Linked DNA regions of Homo sapiens: region 1 is linked to region 2. The links are contacts of gene promoters, found by promoter capture Hi-C in human tissues and cell types (Jung and others, 2019). All regions are on one chromosome and are shown on one strand. The core of a region is centred on a gene start or on the middle of the fragment in contact, and the rest is flanking DNA. Distances in the headings are between cores, read along the strand shown.

Region 1 (6,280 bases), core at 2,743-5,242, 730 kb before region 2:
TTATCTCAAGGTGACTAGGAACCCAGAGCTAAGTATCTGTGAGGCAATCTCTGCGAACGCTGAACTTACCTAGTTGGTTTCTATGAAATATGTAGAATGCACTGCAGTAGCCATTGTAAGAAGGTACTATACCGGTTTTTTGGGGCTTGTTGTTGTTGTTTGGTCTGAGAATGTACTGCCAACCCCTCTTTTATAAGAGAGAACTGATTTTGATACATATTTTAAAATATGATAGTACAGAGTTAATGGATGTTAAAATTTTATTTCTTTGTTTTGGTAAGTAGATTAAATCGAGAATCATATAATCAGTACATTTGAGAATTATATAACCAGTATATAATAATACTGGACACAACCATTTGCCATCTTTTCCTGTTATCATCCCATAGAGTGGGTGGGGAGAATGAATAGACATAAACCTAGAATAATGATAAATGGTTTTTAAAACTCTATATTGAATACATTCCAGCTGATAATGACTTTTCTTTTTCACCTTGGTGATATCAGCCTCAGGGTAAAAAAAAAAGTTTCATAAATCTTTTAGTTATAAACAGGAAAGTTTTATATTAGTGTGTCATTTCATTTCTAGACTGTTGATGGTGATGATGATAAAGAATTTGGAGCCAATTTTGATATATGAATGTATTGCTTTTACATGTGATGATTAAAGCTCTCCATTAGCAGTTCTTGGTTGTCTGTGTATATCATATATTTGTTTCTGTGACTTATGTATCTCATCTCCACCTTGTATTATTTAAACCTAAGTTTTCAGCTCAATCTTAGTGGACCCAAGGAGTTTGTTGCCTGTAACTCATATGTACCCCACTTGCGGATGGGGGAAGTCTCTTGTTCTTAGTTTGAATCATCATGAGCAATAGCTAATCAAATAACCTATGGGAAAAATCATTTACTGTGTGCTATTATAAAAAAAAATCCCCAAACAGGCCAAGAGTTGGCATCTGCAGCATTTTTTATTCTTGGTGTGCTCCCCTGGCTCAGCGGAACAGCTCTGTAGGGTGTGTCTGCCTTCATCCAAGGAGTATCCTTCCTACAGCCCATCTAACCTCCAGCCACTCGCACTGTGTCTACCATCATTCCTGTTGAACTGAGTTAAACATTCCGTTCAACCTTTGGCAAGAAAGGATGGTATCAAAGGCTCTCCTCAGGTTAGAACTGAGAGAAATGAGGGGCAGAATGATTGACTCATTGTGATAAAAATTCAATTGAGCTTTGATTGTTGATCTAGAAGAGCCACATCCTTCCAAATTCTGTTCCCTAGCCATTCGAGTGTTTGTGATTACCTCCCAAATTGCTAGGAATAACACGAGAAACAATCTTATGGTGATCCTAGTTGTGTCGCCTCCAGATTTTCCACTCTCCTTAAGGATTATTTGTTTATTTTAAAATATTTTCTTTTGCTTAAAACAACGAGACAGTCAATTTCTAGATGAAATTATACACTCTGTACTTGTAAAAGAGATAAAAGGTAATGAAAAATAGCACGGAAAGGAAAAAAAAGACCCTTGTCAAAAATTAGTGTTGATTAGAAACTTTAACAAAGTGATTTTAGTTATTTTTATCCCTTTGCACTCTATGCAGGAAGAGTTTTGGTGATACGAGATAGTCTGCCACACTTTCTTATGAATCATTTCATAATGTTACTTGGGGCAACACAGATGGAAGAAATGAACATTTCAAAGAACTATGAAATACATAATTATTTGCGGGCTGCCTGATTAGTGTGAGTAATATATGCCGGGAGAGGTGAGCCCTGAATATCCAGGAGAGAAGTTGAAAGTTCATGTTTTAACCTTGACTTTTTAGCAGTGGTAGTTTACTTCTCATGTCTTCAGAAACTCTAGGATGGAAGGTGGTTTGGGGACTTACATCTCTCTCTTTCCTCCTGTCTCCTTCCTATATTGAGCTCTACTTGATCCATCTCAGGTAAAAGGATGTCTCAGTTATTTCTAAACCCAAACAGTAAATTCCTTGTAACTGATCTGAGTCTCCTGCTGTAAGATTTTGTAACCCATTTTCTCAGCTTTAATTGCTTGGCTTCCATTTGTCAGCACTACAGGCCAAGCACCTGGCTATTTGAATTCTCTCACCGTGTGGCTGCGTATCTAAGAATTTAGACACTGTCTTACTTATTTTTAAGTGGCTTTTCATAAGATTGGAGCATAGGTTTTATGCCAAAGACATTTGTGTTTTCTGCAGCTTCTTAGCATTGCTGGACCCTCTACCAAGAGGTTATACGGTAAGCTGATTCTGATTCTGTGGCTTATGCTGACTTCATGATTGTAAACCAACTTAAGGAGAGTCACCATCCAGAATTTAATGAAATCATCTTTGCAATATTGATTATACATCCAGACTGCACTTGTGTTTTCCTTTTTAAAAATACCTTTTCCTGAAGGGCTCATTATGCTTTAATGTCTCCTAGATAACATGTGGAAGCTGTAGGCATTATAAGCCCACGTTTGATGAACAGTCTCAGAGAATCAGCGTGCAAGCTCATTTCCTCCACTTTATTCCTATAAGAAGAAGATCAAGCCTCAACTTGGGAGCCAGCTGATCTGAATTTTATTCCTGGCTTTGCTGTCTGATTCAGTGTGACCTTGGATAACTCACCAGAGAGGGAAGGTTCACTTTTCAGAAGGTGAAGTTTATGATAGACCAATCAGACTCTCGTTGAGAGAAAAAGACCTGACGGAGCACAGCTAGATTTTCCTAGGCAACATCTGACCTGACTGAAGATGATTTTTGAGTTTGGGTCGGGAAAATACAATAGCAGGGATCATGATGCATTGAGAAGAAGCAAGGGCTTGCAGTAGGAAGGAAAAAGAATGGACCTGGTTGTCCATGAAACTCTGCCACTAATTAGTTTCCCCACTCCCTTTCTAGTTCACAGCTCTGAATTCTTGTGGCGTGCCAGGGACTGAACAAGTCAGACATGGCCTCTGCTCTCATGGAACTTAAAGTCTAGCAGGGAAGACATAATGAACTGTAATGACAAGAGTGATGAACTTTCCTGAAGGGGAAGTTCAGGCCACTGTGAGGCTCTGACAGAGGGATTTCACCTGTCCTCAGGAATTAGGGAAGGCTTTCCTGGGGAGTGACATTTGAATGTGAAGATAGAAAGATAAGTAGATGTTAATTAAGGGAAGGAGGATTTTATGTCCCCCAGCCACACCCATCTGTGCCATATCAGGCTTTGGAGAGATGAGAAAAACCAGATAGGGGTAGAAGCAAAGTTGGAACATTGTTTTTATCATTAAAACAAAGATGACAGAATCAAAACCATTCAAATTGTGTTGCCCCAAACCCCTGCGCCTGGTCCTGGGGTCAGCCTTAAGGGAACCAGGACCCAGCAGTAAGGGGTATGTGGAGAAGGGATTGTGAAGATTTTATACAGTTTAAGGGAATCAAGAAGCTTGTTGGGTAAAGGAGTTCCTTCTTGGCCCCCATGCCTTTGCTTATGCCTTTTTGCCTCTCCCTAGAACACACAGTCATATTCCTCCCTCTTGAAAACTCTATTTGAAGCATGGGCTCTGGAGTCAGACGTCCACGTTGATTCCTGGCGCCACCCTTTACCACCTGTTTCACTTGAGCAGGTTGCTTAAGCTCTCTGTGCTGCTGTTTCCTCATCTATAAAGTGGTGATAATAATAGTGTCTACCCTAGAGGGTTGTTGTGAGAACTGGATGAAGTAATACTTGTGAAGTGTTTGGGATGATGCCCGGCACGAAGCCTCAGTAAATGCTGGTGGGTATTAATACGTAAGGCCCCTCGTCTTTCAAGAAGTCTTCTATACCTAATACAACCCTCACAAGCTAGGATTCATACAGTATTTATAGTGTACTTGGAAGTAGGGACATAACTTTTTTTTTTCTTAGCATTTACTTGGTCAGTGCCCTTTGGCCAAAGACCACCAGGAGCAACCCTGTAAGTTAAACAAATTAGGTTTATTACTCATGGCAGCCAGAGAGCACACACACCCTGAGGAACTATGGGGTGTCCCGGTAGGAGGGTGCAAGAAAAGCTTTTGTAGGGTTTGGGCTTTGGGGATATGGGGAAGGGTCTGAGGAGTTAGGATTTCACTCTAATTGGATGCCGTCAGAAAGCAGGGGCAATTCTATGATTTGGCATGTTCATAAATCTTATCTATAGAGAGGGAAGTCTAGCTGAGGATAAGCTGTAATTAGCAAAGCAGAAGCAGTTGCTCATCTGGCTGAGAGAAGTGGTTGGTATTCTGTGGGTGGCACAGTGACCTTATTTTTGTCTGTTCTTAGACACAATTATGAAATGACCTTGTTTTGTCTCATTTTATTGTGGTCTCAGAATAACCTTGTCAGAGGTTGGTTTTCTGTGAGATAGTTTAGGTTCATCAGAATAACATGCCTTAGCTGTGAGTACCAGGCCAGTTTCTAAATGTCAGAGGCTGTTCTTTTTGTTCTCAACTTGTCTAACTTTTGTTTGGGCTACTTTTCTTCCTCCTGGGAAATTGTAAGAGAATGTATTTACTCATTCAACAAACCAGCAAGTGGGTACCTGTACTCCATACCAGGCACGATCCTAAACACAGGACACAGTAGTGAAATCTCTGCCTTCAAGGTTCTCCAAGTCTTGGATAAGAAGTCTTGGATAAAATTGTGTTTCAGTTAACCGTTTTGCTAGTTTAAATGCCTTCTTCAGCTTTCCCACAAGTATTCCAGCTTGTACTGGATACTTTCAATGATTAGGAAATACTACATGCTGTAGACAATTCTGAATGCTAGAAAATTGGTTCTTACCTTGATCTATAATTTCTTTTTCTTTTCTTTTCTTTCTTTTTTTTTTTTTTTTTTTGTGAAACGGAGTCTCGCTCTGTCACCCAGGCTGGAGTGCAGTGGTGCGATCTCGGCTCACTGCAACCTTCGCCTCCTGGGTTCACGCCATTCTCCTGCCTCAGCCTCCTGAGTAGCTGGGACTACAGGCGCCTGTCACCACCTGGCTAATTTTTTTGTATTTTTAGTAGAGACGGGGTTTCACCGTGTTAGCCAGGATGGTCTCTATCTCCTGACCTCATGGTCCGCCCACCTTGGCCTCCCAAAGTGCTGGGATTACAGGCTTGAGCCACCGCGCCCGGCCTTGATCTATAATTTCTTTCCTCGTATATTCCACTGCTTGGGTCTATATCTATACATTAAAGACACTCAGAACGAGTTCCCTGCATGTTCTCTAGCTGTTTACGTAGTTGACCCACGGGCAATGTAGGTGAACTCTGGATTTTCATGATTCCTTGCTGTGCTGACTGCTCTTACATTCTTCTCAAAAGAATATTTTAGTTTAACAAATAATTTAATGTTGATTCCATTTTCCACATGGATTTAGTGTTTAGGCCTGTTTTGTCCGACTGAAGGACAGACTACATTATCAGGGCTTTTCTAATGAAAGTGTATGTAGGCAGTTAGGTGCTACTGCGTGTGAGAACAGCAGACGCTAGGTGGCAGCATCTTGCTTCGGAACTGGCACAACAAACTGGGCGCTGAGTTCATAGCTGCATTTTAGAGAGCAGGGTCAAAGGACCTTCCAGAAGTTATCTAGTCCCTGCCACCAGGTGGGACAACCCCTGGTCAAATCCACCGACATAGGTATTTATCCCGTTTATAGTAACTGCTAGGAAAAGGACACATCTTCCCAATAGGAACCTAGTCTATTATTTTAGAATTTTGCCTGGTGAAAATTCTTCCTAAATAACCGTGCCACATACTGTCATCTAATCTGTTTTCCTTCTTTCTTCAGGTGAAGTCGCATTAATTTAAGTTAATTTAGAAAAAGATCGTTGGCCATTTTCTGAGGCCGTGCGCAGAAAGACTGTTACCAGTGAGTTCCCTGTCAACCTTACTCCTTCAGCTCACCCATCCACCCATCCCTCACCTTGCCAGAAAGATTCTGAATCCCCTAACGTGCTTCTGGCTGTACTCCCCAGCTTCTTATTTACCTCTGGCACTACCTCCTGGCTGTGTTCTCCATCATGCTTGAGTTATGGAGCCCCCAAGTTTTGTCTTCCTTGGGGGTTCGGGTTAAGAACTCGGGTTCTTAACATTGTAAAGTTAACACCTCAGAACACAATATGCCCTCTGAGATATGATATTCTATGCTCTTTTTAAAAAAATGTGTGTCAGAAAAGATGGGCCATAAACTTAGCTTCAAATTGAAACAGGGGGCGTATCAACTCCAGATGTTTCTGAAGTCCTTCTCTCAAAGTCTTAGGACTTGAAATGGTATACCACAAATAT
Region 2 (6,852 bases), core at 3,874-6,373:
TATCTCCACAGCACCAGTTTAATGCTGGCACACGGTGGGCACTCAAGTTCTCTTGGAAGAATGAATGGACAGATAAAGTTCTTGGCTGGTGATTTGAAGGCCACACACAATACAGCTGTTGTCTACCTGCCCAACCTCTCCTCCATGGCTTCCCTGCACACATGCCACACCTGGCCCACCTGCACCATTCACAAGCACCATTCAACTTTCTCAGTGCCTAGCCCCAGGCTGATCCTTCCTCCTTCTGTTGAAATGCAAGCTCCCCTCCGGGGTTCATGTCCACCACCACTTGCTGCATGCAATGGTGCTCCTCAATCAAGGTGACTGAACTGTTTCAACCCACATAACATTCTGCTCTCAGAAGCCATTCGCCTTGTCCTTTGAACTGTCATCTTTCGAGCCCATTTCTCAACTCTTTACTGGCTTATAAGCCCCATGAAGATAAGGACGTTTATCTTTTTTATTTTTGCAGCATCAGAACTTAGCACAGACTTTTTTTTTTAAGAGACAGAATTCTCGCTCTGTTACTCAGCCTGGAGTGCAGTGACACAATCATGGCTCACTGAAGCCTCGAACTCCTGAACTCAAGCGATCCTTCCACCTCCAGCTGGGACCATAGGTCCACAGGTGTGTACCACCACACCTGGCATATATATACACACACAGACACACACACACACACACACACACACAATTTTTTAGATACAGAGGCCTCACTATGTTGCCCAGGGTGGTCTCAAATCCCTGGGCTCAAGTGATCCTCCCACATCAGCTTCCCAAAATACTGGGATTACAGATGTGAGGCACCGCATCCAGCCCAGCACAGACTCTTATACATGTGACACATACACTGTTTGTGGAGTTCACTAGAGAACCACCCAAGGAAGTATATAAAGGCCAGGAGCAAAATGAAGACAGAAAATGCCACCGGGGTTCCCAGGAAAAAGAGGTTCATTTGGGATGGGATGCCAGGGTCTTGAGAGGAGCTCAGACATGAGAAAGGTCTTGAAAGAGGAGAGGGATGGAAGAACCAACCAGGAAGGTGGAAGAGGATGAACTAAGGGGCCAAGAAGGAACGCGCAAAGCATGCTTGGGAGATAAGTCTGGCTAGAACCAAGGGTTCCAGGAGGGAGGAGAGTGGCGATAAGGCTAGACAGGCAGGATGCTGAATGCCAGGCGAATGCACCGGGATTAGATCCACTCCCTCTTAGTCAGTGAGGATGACAACCACTGCAGGCTGGGCCCTCACGGCAGAGAAAAGAAGTCTTGTCCTCTCTTGTTCCAAGCATCTTAGTCCAGTCTCCTCCACGAGGTTATAAATAACAGCCACCGTTTACTGCACACCTGCTGTATATGAGGCCCTGAGCTACGTGCCTCACATACATCAGCTCATGGCTCCTTCCCAACACCCTGAGTACTTGGTATTGTTATCCTCATTTTGCAAGCAAGGAGCTGAGACTAAAGGAGGTGAAGGCATCCGCCCAAGTCCCAACCCACTCACTCATTCACTTAACAGTGCTGGCTGGCCCTGGGGTTACAGGCCTGCGAAAAGGGGGCACTCCCTCCAGCCACCCCAGGTTCAAGGGCTTCCCACCTAAGCTGGGCTGCTTCTCCACAACTCTCCCGATTAATTCCTCAAGGTCAGCATTTACTAAGCACACAGCAGGAGCTTAATAAAGCACACTAAACAGACAGAATAGTGGCTGCCAGAGGCTGGGAGGAGGGGGAAACAGTTGTTTCAAGAATATTAAAGCTTCAGTTTTACAAGGTAATTTCTGGAGCTGTCGCACAACAATGTAAATAGACTTAATGCTACTGAACTGTACATTTAAGAATGGTTAAAATGTACACTTAAGATTTTACATTTGCCAGGCGCGGTGGCTCATGCTTGTAATCCCAGCACTTTTTGGGGCCGAGGAGGGTGGATCATGAGGTCAGGAGTTCAAGACCAGCCTGGCCAACATGGTGAAACCCCGTCTCTACTAAAAAAAATACAAAATTTAGCCGAGGGTGATGGCGGGCGCCTGTAGTCCCAGCTACTGGGGAGGCTGAGGCAGAGAATTGCTTGAACCCGGGAGGCGGAGGTTGCAGTGAGCTGTGATTATGCCACTGCACTCCAGCCTGGGCGACAGAGTGAGACTCCATCTCAAAAACAACAACAACAAAAAAAAGATTTTACATTCAGTGTTTTTTTAACCACAATTTTAGAATTTTTTATATAAAGCACACTTCCTAATTGATTGAGTGGCTGCCAATATCTTACACTGTTAATTATCTGATGCTGGAAGAGACTCTAGAATATTTCTAATCCAATATACCACCAAAACAGAGAGTTGGAAAGAGGAGGTAAATTGCCCAAGGTTGCACAAATAGGTGGTGCCAGGTGAAGACAAGGCTCAACATAGAGGAAAGGGGCTGGGCGTGGTGGCTCACGCCTGTAATCCCAACACTTTGGGAGGCCAAGGTAGGAGAATTGCTTGAGGCCAGGAGTTCAAGACCAGAGACCAGCCTGGGCAACATAGCACAACCCTGTCTCTACCAAAAAAAAAAAAAAAATTTTTTTAATTATCTGAGCATGGGGCCTGTACCTATAGTCCCAGCTACTCGGGAGGCTAAGGTGGGAGGATCACTTGAGCCCAGGAGTTGGAGGCTGCAGTGAGCTGCTTGTGTCCCTGTGCTCCAGCCCAGGCAACAAAGCAAGACCCTGTCTCTAAAAAAAAAAAAAAAAAATAGAAGAAGGGGCTAAGTACGGTGGTTCATGCCTGTAATCCCAGCACTTTGGGAGGCCAAGGCAGGCGGATCACCTGAGGTCAGGAGTTTGAGACCAGTCTGGCCAACATGGCGAAACTCCATCTCTACTAAAAATACAAAAATTAGCCAGGTGTGGTGGCGGGCACCTGTAATCCCAGTTACTTGGGAGGTTGAGGCAGGAGAATCACTTGAACCCAGTAGGCAGAGGTTGCAGTGAGCCGAGATAGTGCCATCGCACTCCAGCCTGGGCAACAAAAGCAAAAGTCTGTCTCAGAAAAAAATAAATAAATAAAATAGAAGAAGGGCAGAGAGGCAGATGGCAGAATAGATGGCACAAGGCAGGAAGGTCAGAAGCCAGGGTTCAAGTTTTGCTTCTTTCACTTAATGAGTGTTGTGACCTTAGATAAGATACTTATTCTCTCTGAGTATCATTTTCTTAACCTATAAGAAGGCAATTAAAAGTAACAAACTTCAGCCAATGCGGTGGCTCACGCCTATAATCCCAGCACTGTGGGAGGCCAAGGCAGGTGGATCACTTGAGGTCAGGAGTTCAAGACCAGCCTGGTCAACATGGCAAAACCTCATCTCTACTAAAAATACAAAAATTAGAAGGCGTGGCGGCACGCGCCTGTAATCCCAGCTACTCGGGAGGCTGAGGCAGGAGAATGGCTTGAACCTGGGACGCGGGGGTTGCAGTGAGCTGAGATCCTGCCACTGCACTCCAGCCTGGGCAACAGAGTGAGACTCTGTCTCAAAAAAAAAAAAAAAAGTAACAAATTTCACAAGATTACGTATGAATTAAATAAAATTATATACAGCTAATGTAACGTGCATAGAAAAAACTTGGCCAACTATAAATTACTTTATCAACACTAGTTATTGTTATTAATATTAAATATCTGTTCATAGGTTTAAAAAGCTCTGCCAGAATATTAAAATCTGATTAAACCAGACCAAAAAAAAAAAAATCCTACTCTCACCTGTTCAGGGACTTGCACACAGGGCGTCTTCAGTGAGTGAGAGTAGAACTGAATTACACTTCAAGTTTTATCTACCCCAATCCTCTCCCTCCAACCCACAGCCCAGCTGCATCAGCCATGCCAGGACCAAGCCGAGGGTAGGAAGCCGGTGTAATTGTCTGCCTCTCTGGCTGCATTCCTTAGCTAAATATAAATGATTTGTCCAGGCTATTGTTTGAAATTATCCATAATCCCTCTCCTCCCCTCCCCATTACTTATGATGGCAAGCTGGCTGCGTATCTCTATAGCAAAGCATATATTCAACATTCTCTGTGGCTATTTTCAGTAAAGAGAAGGGAGCTGGCAGGTATATATAGGGATCCTCGCATGAGTCTTCAGTTTTCTCCACTAGTCCAGGAAAGCTTCCTGGAGGAGGAAATACCTGAGTCACCCCAGGGAAAAGGACAGCTGCAGGTCAGAAGGGCACGCGCACATAATGAGAGACTGGGTCTCTGAACTAAGAGTTACCAGGTAAGGCAGGTAAGCCCCTGCCTTCTTACCCCCCGTTTTGGTGATGCGAGAAAAAGGTAGCTCAGGGGATCCCATACTAGCCCAAGCTTCCCCAGACAAAACAGGCATTTGGGGGAAGATGAAGCAGTGACTCGTATATTTTTCAAAGAGGGAGGAGATCCAAGACTCCAGTTCCAAGATGTACAAGTACAAATATTGCTCTTACAACAACAAGCCGGTTTCTTGTTTGGATCTTTTTTTAAAAACCACAAGAAAGTTTTTTGAAGTCCCAAACTTGAATGCACAGATGGGCTAGATCTCCAACTTCGGGATGTGCCAGAGTCCTGTCACTCGGAGTGCTGATCTTCCAGCAGTGGCCCAGGGAGCGGTCGCGGGTGCCGGGGGGCTGCAGGCCATATCCCAGCCCTGCCCGAAGGCCCCCTGGCCCTCTCTGGGGTCCTTGTATGGACTGTCCCAAGCGGTGCACGGGGTCACACAGTCGGAAACCCTTGCCGGCCCCGGGTTACTCCCTTTCTGAAACGGTCTTCCTCGGAGCCATCCCCTGGAGGACCCCACTTCGCTCGGTGCCCGGGCCCCGCACCCACCCTCCCCTTCCCGGCCCGCTTCCCGCACGGCGCCTACTCTGTTCCTCGTCCTCTCGTCCCACCGCCGCCCTGCCCACACTGCCTCCCGTGGGCGCCCCCGGCCGCTCCCCCTTCTCGGGTCTCGGCCTGGGGGTGCCCAGCCCGCCCGGCGCCGGCTCAAGGCCGCGCGACTCCGCACGCTCTCGAGACCCGCCTCGCCGCCCGCCGCCCGGGCCGCACTCACCGCGCCCGCAGGACCTGGGGGTCTCCGCTCTGCTCGCGCTCCGGCACCGCCGCCGCCGCCGCCGCCAGCGGAAACAGGGGGCGGGGCCTGCCCGGGAATGGCGAGCCTGCGGGGCGGGGCGGCCCGGGGGCGGAGCGGGGAGGGGCGGGGCGGAGCGGGGAGGGGCGGGGCGGAGAAGGATCGCAGGGCTGAGCGGGGCGCCAGCGCCAGTGCCCGGCACTGCCCCGGGCTGGGTCCCCTGCGTTAGAGGAAGGGGAGCCCGGGGACGGGGCACGGGGCCCGCGAGGCACGGGTGCTCTCTCGGGGTTCCGGAAGCCTCCCTCCCCGCCCCGCCGCCCGCATGCCCGGACCGGCCGCTCCTCCGAGGTGCTATGATCCCGCCTTCCCCCTGCGGCGAACGGGCCTCTTCCCGGGGTAGGGGCGGGGAGGTCCGGGCCTGGCAGTGCGCTCTCCTGGGCTCTGCGCCCACACGGCACCCAAGGGCCTTCCTGGCCCAGGCCTCGGCTCTCTCCCTCGCGCCAGGCTGCCTGGCCTCGCCACCCCACCCCCACACCTACGAACCCCTTCCCTGGTGTTTCGGGCGGACTGTGCGAGATGCTGACAGCGCGGGTGTGTGTTGGAGCCTGCCTGAGACACCTCCCGCAGAAAGGGCCATGCCTCCCCAGGAGCTGGCGGCCTCCAAGGGCGACTACAGGGCACCGTGTGCCTGAGGGGTGCGCTAAGGCAGGAGAAACTCCAGCTAGGCATGTCTGGCCCGGGCGCTTTTTCAGGCCTGGATTTTATGTGTTTTTTGCTTTTTGTTTTGTTTTGTTTTTTCTTGAGACAAGGACTCACTCTGTTGCCCAGGCAGGAGTGCAGTGGTGCGATCACGGCTCACTGCAGCCTCGACTTCCCGGGCTCAAGTGATCCCGCCTCAGCCTCCAGAGTAGTTGGGACTGTAGGCGCGCACCACCACGTCCGGCGAAGTTTTTGATTTTTTTTGTACAGACGGTGGTCTCCCTGGGCCCAAGCTGGTCTCAAACTCCCGGGCTCAAGCCATCCTCCTGCCTCTGCCTCCCAAAGTGCTGGGATTATAGGCCCGGATTCTTAAAGCTAGAAGGCCTAAACTTGTTTCCAAAGAGCACTAAAACGCCATCTCTTCTCATCATTACTGTCATCAAAAATGTCTTCTAGGCCAGGTGTGGTGGCTCACGCGTGTAATCCCAGGACTTTGGGGGGCCCAGGTGGAAGGATTGCTTGAGCTCAGGAACTCAGGAATTCAAGAACAGCCTGGGCAACATAGGGAAACCCCATCTCAAAAAAAAAATGTTTTAATTAACCGGGTGTGGTGGCACACCCCTGTAGTCCCAGCTGCTCCGGAGGCTGAGGCTCAGGCGTTGGAGGCTGCAGTAAACTAGGATCATGCCACTGTACTCCAGCCTGGGCAGTAGAGGGAGACCCTGTCTTTAAAAGTGAAATTTTTTTAAATTTTAAAGAAACTGTATGCTGTGCTTCCCACGTGCCCTACCATTGCACTAAGCTTGACTGGGGACAAGTTTTTAAAACCTGGCTATAATCACTAGGGTCACTTTTGCTTTCTGCTAATTAGACTGGAAGTTTCCACTCATCTTCTGGGCCCCTTTCCGTCACACACATGCAACCTTGTTTTTGTCTATTAGACTAAACCCATAACCCATTTCCTTCTGATCTCCCTTTCCCCACAAGGAAAATATTCTCCTTCTACATTTTGCTTCATCCAAAGCCCTGTTCAATGCCCCTATAACAAAGTCTTCCCAAGGAACCCCCACCAGCCCCAATCTCTCCA

The links. The method cuts DNA at HindIII sites, captures the fragments that hold promoters and counts their contacts. A contact is called where the count stands out against the background at its distance.
Region 1: a fragment that was not itself captured here is called in contact with the fragment with the promoter of TSPAN9 in region 2 in 1 of the 25 tissues and cell types used here (dorsolateral prefrontal cortex).

The regions. Positions count from the first base shown.
Region 1 is chr12:3,803,267-3,809,546 of GRCh38, reverse strand. PARP11 (poly(ADP-ribose) polymerase family member 11) reads left to right here. Exons shown (of 8, transcript NM_020367.6): 8 at 1-686. Among named protein-coding and RNA genes, the nearest start is that of CRACR2A, 53 kb to the right of the region's middle. The HindIII fragment of the contact is 5,252 bases long and covers 1,367-6,280 here.
Region 2 is chr12:3,075,650-3,082,501 of GRCh38, reverse strand. It overlaps TSPAN9 (tetraspanin 9), which reads right to left and starts at 5,123. Exons shown (of 9, transcript NM_006675.5): 1 at 5,049-5,123. RefSeq lists silencers at 5,018-5,517, 5,568-5,617. The HindIII fragment of the contact is 4,780 bases long and covers 2,944-6,852 here.